Regions from separate parts of the Homo sapiens genome. Here region 2 is linked to region 1. Evidence: promoter capture Hi-C in human tissues and cell types (Jung and others, 2019). All regions are on one chromosome and are shown on one strand. Each heading gives the region's core, a stretch centred on a gene start or on the middle of the fragment in contact. The rest is flanking DNA. Distances are from core to core; before and after follow the strand shown.

What was found. Contacts are between HindIII fragments. The study calls those that stand out against the background at their distance.
Region 2: a fragment that was not itself captured here is called in contact with the fragment with the promoter of NKX2-5 in region 1 in 2 of the 25 tissues and cell types used here (IMR-90 fibroblasts and mesendoderm cells).

The regions. Positions count from the first base shown.
Region 1 is chr5:173,233,663-173,238,952 of GRCh38, reverse strand. NKX2-5 (NK2 homeobox 5) reads left to right here and starts at 3,747. Exons shown (of 2, transcript NM_004387.4): 1 at 3,747-4,203. The coding sequence starts at 3,870. RefSeq lists enhancers at 1-251, 5,068-5,290. The HindIII fragment of the contact is 11,596 bases long and covers 741-5,290 here.
Region 2 is chr5:173,179,566-173,184,752 of GRCh38, reverse strand. No RefSeq gene overlaps it. Among named protein-coding and RNA genes, the nearest start is that of BNIP1, 38 kb to the right of the region's middle. The HindIII fragment of the contact is 6,526 bases long and covers 1-5,187 here.

The DNA of each region.
Region 1 (5,290 bases), core at 2,498-4,997:
AATCCGGTGCCGCGGAGGCCGCCTGGACTCTTCCGGAGCCAAGGGCGAGGTCGGCGGCCCTCAGAGTCGCCCCCCGCCCCCAACTCCCGGCCAGGAAGGAAGCCGGGCGGCGGAGGGGCCCAGCGCGGAGGCGGAGGCGGAGGCGGAGGCGGAGGCCGAGGCCGGGAGTCCGGCGCGCAGCCGGAGCTGCTCATCCATCAGCCGGACGAAGAGCAGAGTCGCGCTCTCGGCCCTCTGTTTGCTTTCTCGCCAATTATTGCAGCGCCGCAGCCCCTTTGTTGATACAGTAGTCCGAAAAAGTGCTAATGTTCATTTATCAGGGGGCCAGCCGGGGACTCCCACGAGTTGCGATTCTTCCCAAAATATAAACATGGGGCGAGCGTCCCAGACAGAAACTCCCATCTGTTTCCCCCGCGCGGGCCGAGAGCGAGGCGTTGTTGAAGATAAAGCCGCGGATAACGCCGCCTGTCTCCAATGGACGTCTCCCCAGCGCATTAATGACATTCCCGGTGATAGTTCCAGCTTATCTTTCAATTAATCATATATACCTTTTGCGACCAGCCCTGCTGATTGCACGAAAGGGGGGCCGGCTCCGGCTGCGCCGATCGCTTTTCAATTAATAATAATTTATTCACGGAGAATGCGCTCGAGCCACCCTGGAATTTGGATTATCTTAAAGCACCAACTCTTTAAAAGTCAAGGAAATACACAGATAGATTTTCGATCTCTTCTCTCTCCTTTTGTCTCTCTCTGCCTTTCTCTAGGCTGAAGGCTGTTTGTTTGTCCTGCTAGTTTGGTCAAAGTGCGGCGCAGAGAGGCGGCCAGGTTGGGTCAGCGGCCCTTGGGAAAAAAAGATGTGTCCCTGTTGGGGGCCAGAGAATCAAGTTTCCTCCCACCCAACCCCCAACTATTGCAATTTCTATTTAGATCTATTTAGAGGGATTTTTTTTTAACTCACTCGGAAACAGTGAGGACTGGAAAGAAAAGCTGCAAATGGCTCTCGGACTTTCCTCTAAGGAGACCAGCATGGGTCGCCCCAATTTCTATTTTGCACGTATTTGTCCGTTTTTGCCCCATCTCCTCTCTCCTGCAACACCAAGACCTTTTTGGAAGCCAAGAGAAATCATTACCCGATTCACAAAGAGCATAGAGAGTGTAACAGTCACTGATCTTGTTCAAATAGGGAGAGTTTTTTTTCCTTCCCTTTTTGTAACACCTGACCCACAGGACTGACAGTTCTAGGAAGCCCCCTTACCCGAAAATAGGAAATAAATCCTTGCCACCTTGATTTGCAAGGGCAATGCTAATTTTTTTCTTTCTCCAGAGCTCTCAAAAAAAAAAAAAAAAAAACCTTACTAAAAACAGGGATCCCGGATGTAGCCTCGATGTCCCCCATTAAACGGTAATATTTCAGGCGTCCGCTCACACTAATCTTTCAAACTGTCATCGCGAGCCGCCTGGCCAGCAGATTCACTTAACAGCGCTCCCAGGACCCTCGTTCCGAGCTCTTTTCAGCGAGACATTTAATTGAATCGGATGTGGCTCGTTTGCCAGACGTCACCGCCTCGGCGATAGGCATCCTCTCCAACGACACCCCCCCCCGCCCGCGCTCGAAAACAATCTTCAAAGGCAAGGCGGGCCCCCAAGCTAGGTTAATTTACAGCCATAACGGTAACGTGGCCAAAAGTCCAGGCGAGGAAGGGCCGCAAGGCCGCTGACATGCAGCTCCGTCCAAGGAGAATTTGGGTTGGGAGGTGAAGAGGTGGGGGGACGAGGTTTCCTGGGCCTTGAACGCCCCACATTTAAGAAAAGGCATCCTCCACAGACTAGACTAACAATTCCAGACCCCCAGTAGTCCCTGGCTCAGAAACTCGAGGCGTGATTTCGGCGTGGCAGCCCAGGCCTGTTACTGACGGCTGGCGCCTAGAAGCCGGGGTCAGGGCGTTGCGCGCCTCCTGGGCTGCCCTGCGGGGCTCACCTCTCTCCCCAGCATGGAGGCCCCAGGTCCTGGGAGTGTGGCTTTGATGAGGGACAGGAAAAGTCCCAACATCAGGCCAATGCTTGACTTCACTTGCGTCGGCGTCTCAGACGGCACACTGTCGGGTTTGAGCACCCAAGATGTACGTTCTGGACAGACACTATTTTGTCCCCATACATGGAGCGTTTCCTCCGCACCTTGGGCGCGCCTGCGGGAGCTGTGTCTTTAGGTAGTTTTTGGCCCTGCGCCGCCTTTATTCTACTCCAAGCGCCTCTTGCCAACCCGCACTCCGCAAAGAGCCAAGCCCTCCACATCCCCATTCTCAGCAAGTCCACGCGTCCCGCCCAGCTTCCCGCCCGCGGTTCCCTGTACCAGCTAGGGCCGTGAGAAGCCAACGCTTTTCCACTGACAAATCCTGTCATCCCCAGCTCTAGAAGGCGTCCTTAACCTGGGCCCGCTCTGCCTGCCCGGACTCCTGAATTGTAAGCAAAATAAAACTCCTCTCTGCAGTGTTCTGGGGAATGGAGAAGACCCCAAGCTTTCATCAGACCTCCCAAGGAGTGCGGGGACCCAGAGAAATGAGGCCACCCGGGCAGGATCTGGCCATGTAGCTGGCGCTCCTGAAACTCTGGCAGATTTGTCTGACTTCTGTGCCCTACTCTACTGACCCTGGGCTAAAAATGATCATGATCACCCCACTTGCCCTGCCCTTCCCCCACGCGCCTGACCGAGCCGCAGGGGTGCCCCACTGGAAGTCCGGCCCAGAGGCCTCAGAGAAATCCTGGCCTAGCTGGGCTCAGAGGAGCCCCGCCTCCCTGAGAGCTAAACCTGGGCTAGGACCCTGAAACCTCGAGGTTGGCAGAAGCCTGAGGGCCTTGCTGCCAGGCAGGGAGGGCACGGGAAGGAGGGAGGTGGGATCGATGGCCTCCAAACAGGGGAAACAAGGTGGCTGGTAGCTGGGGCACTCCACAAGACAGGTGTCTCCTGGGAAGCTGAGCTTACCAGCTGGGATTCCTGATTTATTTCATTATTAAGGGGAGAGGCATTTCCCTGGGAGGGTACTGGCAGTGACTGATGCCCCCTGGAGTTGTGCTGTGCATAACACTACTGTAGGAGGCAGCAACTCCTACCCCACCTGGCCATCACTCACCTTGCCCTTACTTTCGTTGACTCGCCCAGAAGCACCCAGAGCCTGCGGCATGACTGACCCTGTAGGCCAAGCCAAACCAAACCCCCGAATTGTCCAGAATCTCGCCCTGCTGCTATCCCCAAAGCCAGCCCTGTCCTCCAGGCTTCTCTTCCTATTCAGACTCTCCCTCATCCCACCACCTTCAGTAATAAAGCCTTCCTCAAATCACTCTCCTCCCCACCGCTTCCCACCCCATCCTTCTCTCTCCCATGCTGGTTTGGGTGCTGAGGAATATTTCTTCAAACCCACACCCATCCAGCCCTGCCCAGAGGCCTGACTCTGCATGCCTCTGGTAGGCTTTTCAGGCTCACATTAGGGAGCAAACGCAGGCTGCAGGAGCAAAAGGAGACCCTTCCAAATGCGTCGTGGCCCCTTTAAAAAAGCTGGGCAGGGCTTTTTTTTTTTTTTTTTTTTTTTTTTTTTTTTTTTTTTTTTGCCGTATGACTATATTAGGTGACACGAAACTGCTCATCGCTCCTGTCATCGAGGCCCCTGGCCCAATGGCAGGCTGAGTCCCCCTCCTCTGGCCTGGTCCCGCCTCTCCTGCCCCTTGTGCTCAGCGCTACCTGCTGCCCGGACACATCCAGAGCTGGCCGACGGGTGCGCGGGCGGGCGGCGGCACCATGCAGGGAAGCTGCCAGGGGCCGTGGGCAGCGCCGCTTTCTGCCGCCCACCTGGCGCTGTGAGACTGGCGCTGCCACCATGTTCCCCAGCCCTGCTCTCACGCCCACGCCCTTCTCAGTCAAAGACATCCTAAACCTGGAACAGCAGCAGCGCAGCCTGGCTGCCGCCGGAGAGCTCTCTGCCCGCCTGGAGGCGACCCTGGCGCCCTCCTCCTGCATGCTGGCCGCCTTCAAGCCAGAGGCCTACGCTGGGCCCGAGGCGGCTGCGCCGGGCCTCCCAGAGCTGCGCGCAGAGCTGGGCCGCGCGCCTTCACCGGCCAAGTGTGCGTCTGCCTTTCCCGCCGCCCCCGCCTTCTATCCACGTGCCTACAGCGACCCCGACCCAGCCAAGGACCCTAGAGCCGAAAAGAAAGGTGAGGAGGAAACACAGGCCCCCTTCTCCCCTCCTGGGTCGCTTTCGTCCCCAAGAAACTCAGGGCCAGGAGGAGGAGACACGCGCCCTTGGGCCGAGGGCTGGGCTGCGGCGGGGGGTTCAGAATGTAAGATGCCTGGTGTTGTCGCCAGGCTCCCGCGCCCCGCGTCCAATCGGAGGTTCAGAGGAAATGCCGGATTGAAAGGATCAGAAGCAAGAGACCAAAAAACGTTTCCCCCCGGCCTAACAAAGCCCCGGGCGGCTTCGGCTCTGCTCCTGGGTCTGGTAGGAAGTTGAGAAATCGGTTTATGGTAGACAGAACAGAGAGACAAGCAGATAATCTCTGTTTTTAAATCTCCTTTGGATTTACGAATCTTTTTAAAGATCTGATGAGAACCGCTAAACAGAAATTGAAATGTTGCTCACCAGACAGCTTTTGCGTACAATCGGAGGAGGGTCCTGGACCTTCTTTCTGCAGCCCACCCACGACCCGGGTTTCTGGTGCCTTTCTTTCTTTGCGCCAGGAAAGTGGAGTCTGGGATCGAGGGCCTTGATTTTAAAATGGGATACTGCGGACCCTCAGGAATCTGACTTCACTTTATTTTTTCAGCACAACTTGCCGGCGCGGCCAGGGCGGAGAGGTTCCCTCGTGGAAAAGTTAGGAAATGCTGCGCTACCGCGGGCACAAGGGAGTGGACGAGATGAGTGCGGGATCATCCCGCAGGCCATCCCAGGATCGGGGAGGGAGGCCGGCCCCGCTGCAGAAAGGGGCCTTCTGGGAGACCCCCCAGCCCAAGGCAGGAGCCCGGGCGATTCCCGGGAGGCCGCAGGCGCTGGGCGAAGCGCTGGGCGAAGGGCCGCTGCCAGCCGGGAGAGAATTCATAGGTTTGTTGAGGAGCAGAGGCCTGGGAACAAATTCGGGCGGGCACGGCGGCTAGAACTGATCGCTACCAATTCGAGGAAGCCAGCAAGGCAGGTTCCGAGGCCGCCTGCCCACCCGCAGCTTCTTGGACACTGCGCAAACCCTGCTGCGGCCAGGCTGGAGCCTCCGATCACCAAACCAACACTCCCTGGCCTTCTGTTTCTTG
Region 2 (5,187 bases), core at 1,491-3,990, 53 kb after region 1:
TTAATATCCAATAAACAAAAACTCTTTTGGAGTCCTCAGTAATTTTTAAGGGAATAAAGGATTACTGAGACCAAATTTTGAATACGCCTGCTCTCAGGTACCTACCTCGGTGTGGAAAGACCAAGGTATGGAGCAGACACAAATTCAGCCTTACTAGATATTGCCAAATTAGTCTCCCGAGTGATCATCCTGCACAAAGACAGCAGGTTTTGTGTGTTTGTTTTGGGGATTTTTTTTTTTGGCTTGTTTGTTTTCTGTTTTGTTTGTTTTTTTGTTTGCTTGTTTTTGTTTGTTTGGTTGGTTTTTTTTGGTTTTTGGTGTTTTTTTTTTGAGACAGAGTCTCGCTCTGTCACCCAGGCTGGAGTGCAGTGGCACGATCTCAGCTCACTGCAACCTCTGCCTCCCGGGTTCAGCTGATTCTCCTGCCTCAGCCTCCCGAGTAGCTGGGATTACAGGCGCCCGCACCACACCCGGCTTATTTTTTTTGTATTTGTAGTAGAGATGGGGTTTCACCATGTTGGTCAGGCTGGTCTAGAACTCCTGACCTCAGGTGATCCACCCGCCTCAGCCTCCCAAAGTGCTGGGATTACAAGCATAAGCCACTGTGCCTGGACTGTTTTTTGTTAATTAATGGCTAACACATAAAAATCAAGTGAATTACCCCCCAAAATTCAAGTATCTGGCTTTTCTAGAAAAATCTGAAAATGTGATGTCACTGGGCCCATGTCTCTGCTTGGCCTGAGGACATCTGTGTTGTGCCCTCGCCTCGGGCAGGGAGGCCACTGGAGAATTCTCAAGGAGGCCATGGCATGTGCCTCTGAAAGAGAGGGGCTGACGCAGGGCACCAACTTGAATGAGGAAAGTCCGGCTGCATTGGGCCCAGTCAGAAGCTGCCAGAATGACCCAAGCAAGGCACAGGGAGGCCCAAGGTAGGCAGAGGCCAAATGTACAAATGGGAGCCTTGGACATGACCCCCAGAAGAGAGAAAGATGAAGGAGACATGAAGAGGCTGAGTTTCTTTTGGGGAGCCCTAGGGGCCAGTAGCAAGAGTAGGAGAAGCTTCCACGTGGTCACTTGGTTGCAACCAAAATGGGGAATGCAGGTGGCAGAACTCACCTGGGGTTGGTAAAGGTTTTAACATCCAATTTCTTTTTTTTTTCTTTTTTTTTTTCTTTTTTTTTTTTTTTGAGACAGAGAGTCTCACTCTGTCACCCAGGCTGGAGTGCAGTGGCAGGATGTCGGCTCACTGCAACCTCCACCTCCCGGGCTCAAGCAATTCTCCTGCCTTAGCCTCCCAAGTAGCTGGGATTGCAGGCGCCGCAACCACGCCTGGCTAATTTTTGTAATTTTAGTAGAGATGGGGTTTCACCATATTGGTTGGGATGGTCTCAAACTCCTGACCTCAGGTGATCCAGCCGCCTTGGTCTCTCAAAGTGCTGGGATTACAGGCGTGACCCACCACGCCCGGCCAACATTCAGTTTCTTTATTCTTGATCACTGGCCTGACTCACGTAGGCATCCTTCACTTATCTACTATGCTCAGGCAGACCTGGTCTGGGTCAGTGCCTGCAGTTAAGCTGAGGAACAGGCTTGATGTCAAGGAGGGCCGAATCCAGCCAGGCACAGTGGCTCACACTTATAATCTCAACACTTTGGGAGGCCGAGGCTGGAGGATCCTTTGAGCCCAGGAGTTGGAGACCAGCCTAGGCAACATAGTGGGACTCTGTCTCTACAAAAAATTTAAAAATTAGCCAGGTATGGTGGTGGCATGCACCTGTAGTTCCAGCTACTCAGTAGACTGAGGTGGGAGGATCGCTTGAACCTAGAAGGTTGAGGCTGCAGTGAGCCATGATGGCACCACTGTGGGTGACAGAGCAAGATCCTGTCTCAAAAATAAATACATAAAAATTAAAAAGAAGGGCCAAATTCCAGATTTGGGGGCAATTTTTATTCCAGCTCTGGATTTTGAGCAATATTTATACCAGTTCACAGTCTATCAAAATGATGGTGGTAAAAGTAAGCCACAAAGGCCAATGCCTGGGCCCACTGCAGGAAGAGCTCCGGACAGACATGTTTATACTTTTGACCATACTGATGTGGAGGTCTCCTCTCTGGAAGCCTAACTGGGGGGATGGCTGGCCTGCCAGTTTCATCTCTCTTAATCTCTCCCTCTTCCAATAAGGCACACAGGGGTTATAGTACTAAGGACCCATTGGGTTGTAAGTGACAGAAACCCAAGTAAAAGAAATTAGTTTTTGGCTGACCTAAATAGGAAGACCAGAGATTTGATGGGTTTCAGGCATGGCTGGATCCAGAGGCTCAAATTATGTGAATAGGATGCTATCTCTCTGCCTCTCAGCTCGGCTCTCCTCTTAGACAGGCTCCCTTAAAGATGGTATCACCGTAGCTCCAGGATCCCTTCCTGGCAGCTTGGTGACCCTAGAGAAAGAGAATGCTGTTTTCCTCGGAATTCATGAGACAACCCAGGACTGATGCTCAGTTGCCTAGTTTGGTTATGTGAGCCAATCACTCTGACCCTGACCATCCAGGTCACCTCTTCAACCCTGGCATCAGGGGTTGTGTCAGCTCTGTCCCCATGTGGACTGAGTTGGGGAGTGATGGTTTCTCAAAAGAAAACTAGATGTTGATCCCAGATGAAAGGGAATGGGTGCTGGGCAGACAGATACAGTAGATGCCCACTGCAGGGCATTGGTCCCTCAACCCCTGGCTTCTGTACCCTGTGGGGAAAAGTAAGGGTCCTTCTCCCAGGCCATCCCTACCAGAACCAAATAATCTCATCTCTGCTTATCTAGGCCCACTTCCCTAAAGAAAGGAGGGAAGTACTTCTGATTAATCAGGGGGATCCACCTCAAACCCTGCCTCACACCTATTTTACCAGTTATGTCACTGCTACAAAATGGGGGAAGAAAGCAATTCCAAATGTACTAAAATATGCACAAGAAAAAATATTAACTTTGTGAGTGGCGTCTTTCAAGCCAGATGGAATTGGAAGTGTTTGTAGTTGCAGGGTTGATAAAATTCTGGATCATTAACATGATCTGCTCAACATTATCTCTGCTGTCCCCTTTCCAGGTTTTTGGTTTAGAAAATGGTAAATAATTTGGGTTCGGTTGTTGCATTTATCTGCCACATTCCTTATAGGTCCCGGGATCATACAACCACATTTGTTCCAGAGAGTAGCAGACGGCAGTGCCCGCACTTGCCGTCTAGGAGTGTTTGAAGTCAACATGATGCTGTGTAACGTGAGCGGCAAGGCTGAAAGATGGATGTAAACTTTATCACAGGAGCTTTCCTTCCTGTGTAAATCTATTCTCCAGAAGGAAAATGTTTGCAATCTCTTTCCTGACCCAGCGTGTCCTCTGGGGTGAATCAGTGCTCTAGGTAGGAAGAAGCTGGAGGCTCTGGAAAATGCTTCTCTGCCTGGGAAAGACTTAATGTTTGAGGTTCCGAACCTCAGGGTGGCTTGCCTGACTCTAATTCACTCTATTTCCCTTCTTCTCTCTTGCTTGACACAGTGAACTCCAGAAGTAAAGAATGGACCACTTCTTAACAATGTACACTACTCAGGTAAGGAGAGCACTAAAAGCCCAGATTTCACCATTACACAATATATCCATGTAACACAACTGCCCTTGTACCCCTAAATCCATAAAAATAAAAAATTACCTAAAAAAAAAGAATTGACCATTTTTATCTTCTAATGTGGCTACAAAAGAAAAAGGAAAGAATTTACCACTCTAAAACCTACAAACAACCTAAATGCCCAGCTGTGGGGAGGAGAGGGGGTCAACCCAAATACACTCCACCCATCAGGTTCCTTCACCTATTCTGTAAATATTGAGCACCTGTTGTGTGCCAGCGATTATCTCTGGGTATAGTGGTTTTCAGGCCATTTTTTTCCTTCTTCAGAATTTTTTCAGTTTTCCAAATTTTCTAAAATGAGCAAGTATCACTTTTATTATCAGAAAAAAAAACCTGATGTTCATTCAGTAAGGACAAAACCAACCAAAGAAACTGACTTTCTGAGAGTGGTATAGCAGCATGCTCCAGCTATCTAGTGCTGCCTAACAAATCACCCCAAACTTAGTGGCATCAAGGAACAACATCCATTCATCACAATTCTCTCTCCCACTTCTGGGGATTGGCTGGGCTCAGCAGGGTGCCTCTTCCTTGAGGTCTTTCCTGTGGTTGTAGTCAGATGGTAGCTGGTGCTGGAGTCAATGAGGAGCTTGCTCATGTGTCTGGCATTTGATGCTGGCTGCTGACTGGGAGCTCAGCCAAGCTACAACACCAGTAAGTGGTCTCCCCATGTGGCCCAGGCTTCCTTCCTCACAGCGTCGGTGGCTGGGTTCCAGGGGTGAGTGTCCCAAGAAAGAGAACCAGGGGGATTCTATATTGCCTTCTCTCCTGGTCCCAGATATCACACAGCATCACCTCCACCACAGCCTATTATTAGAAACAAGTCAACCATATTCAAGGTGAGAAAACTTAGACTCCACCTTTTGAGTGGACTGCTAATAAACTTGCAGACATCTTTTAAAAGGACTGCACAGTGCTTTCCTGAACCAAAGTTCCCAAGCACCCCAGTGGCACTCTAACACCAACCAGTCATCCTACCCATTGGCCCCTCAGTCCCCGTTTTCTGCATCTTCTCAGCACTGAACTCCACCTTAGACCCTCTGCTCTCAGCAGAAGACCTTGTCTCCTCATAAAAGGGAAGCCAAGACAGCAGATCTCCCCGACAGATGCCCTTGGTGCTGAACTTGAACCTCGTTTCCATGTTGAATCCTCCATTGAGTCGAGACACCTTGCCTCCTCCATGACCTCGCCCAACCTGTTCTCATCCTTCCTCTTCCCTTCCCTCACATTCTTGGAATGTGCTAGGTTTCTTCCTCTTAAGTAAACCCATCCCTTAAGCCTGGGGTAGGGAGATCACTCAGAAGGAGTCTGTAATAAGCCAGCCAAGGTCAGCAGGAAGCAAAAAGGAAGGGGAAGGCCAAAAGTAAACTCATTTTTGAAGTAGAAAGGTCATCCTCCAGAGGTGATGATATCGGAAATAAGGAGGTTTGAACACGACTTTGAGGTTCCAGCTTCTGTGTCCCATGAATCCTTGCCTGGGATCTTTCTTACTAGGTTTGGGAGACAGCTCCCTCTGTCCCCTTAATG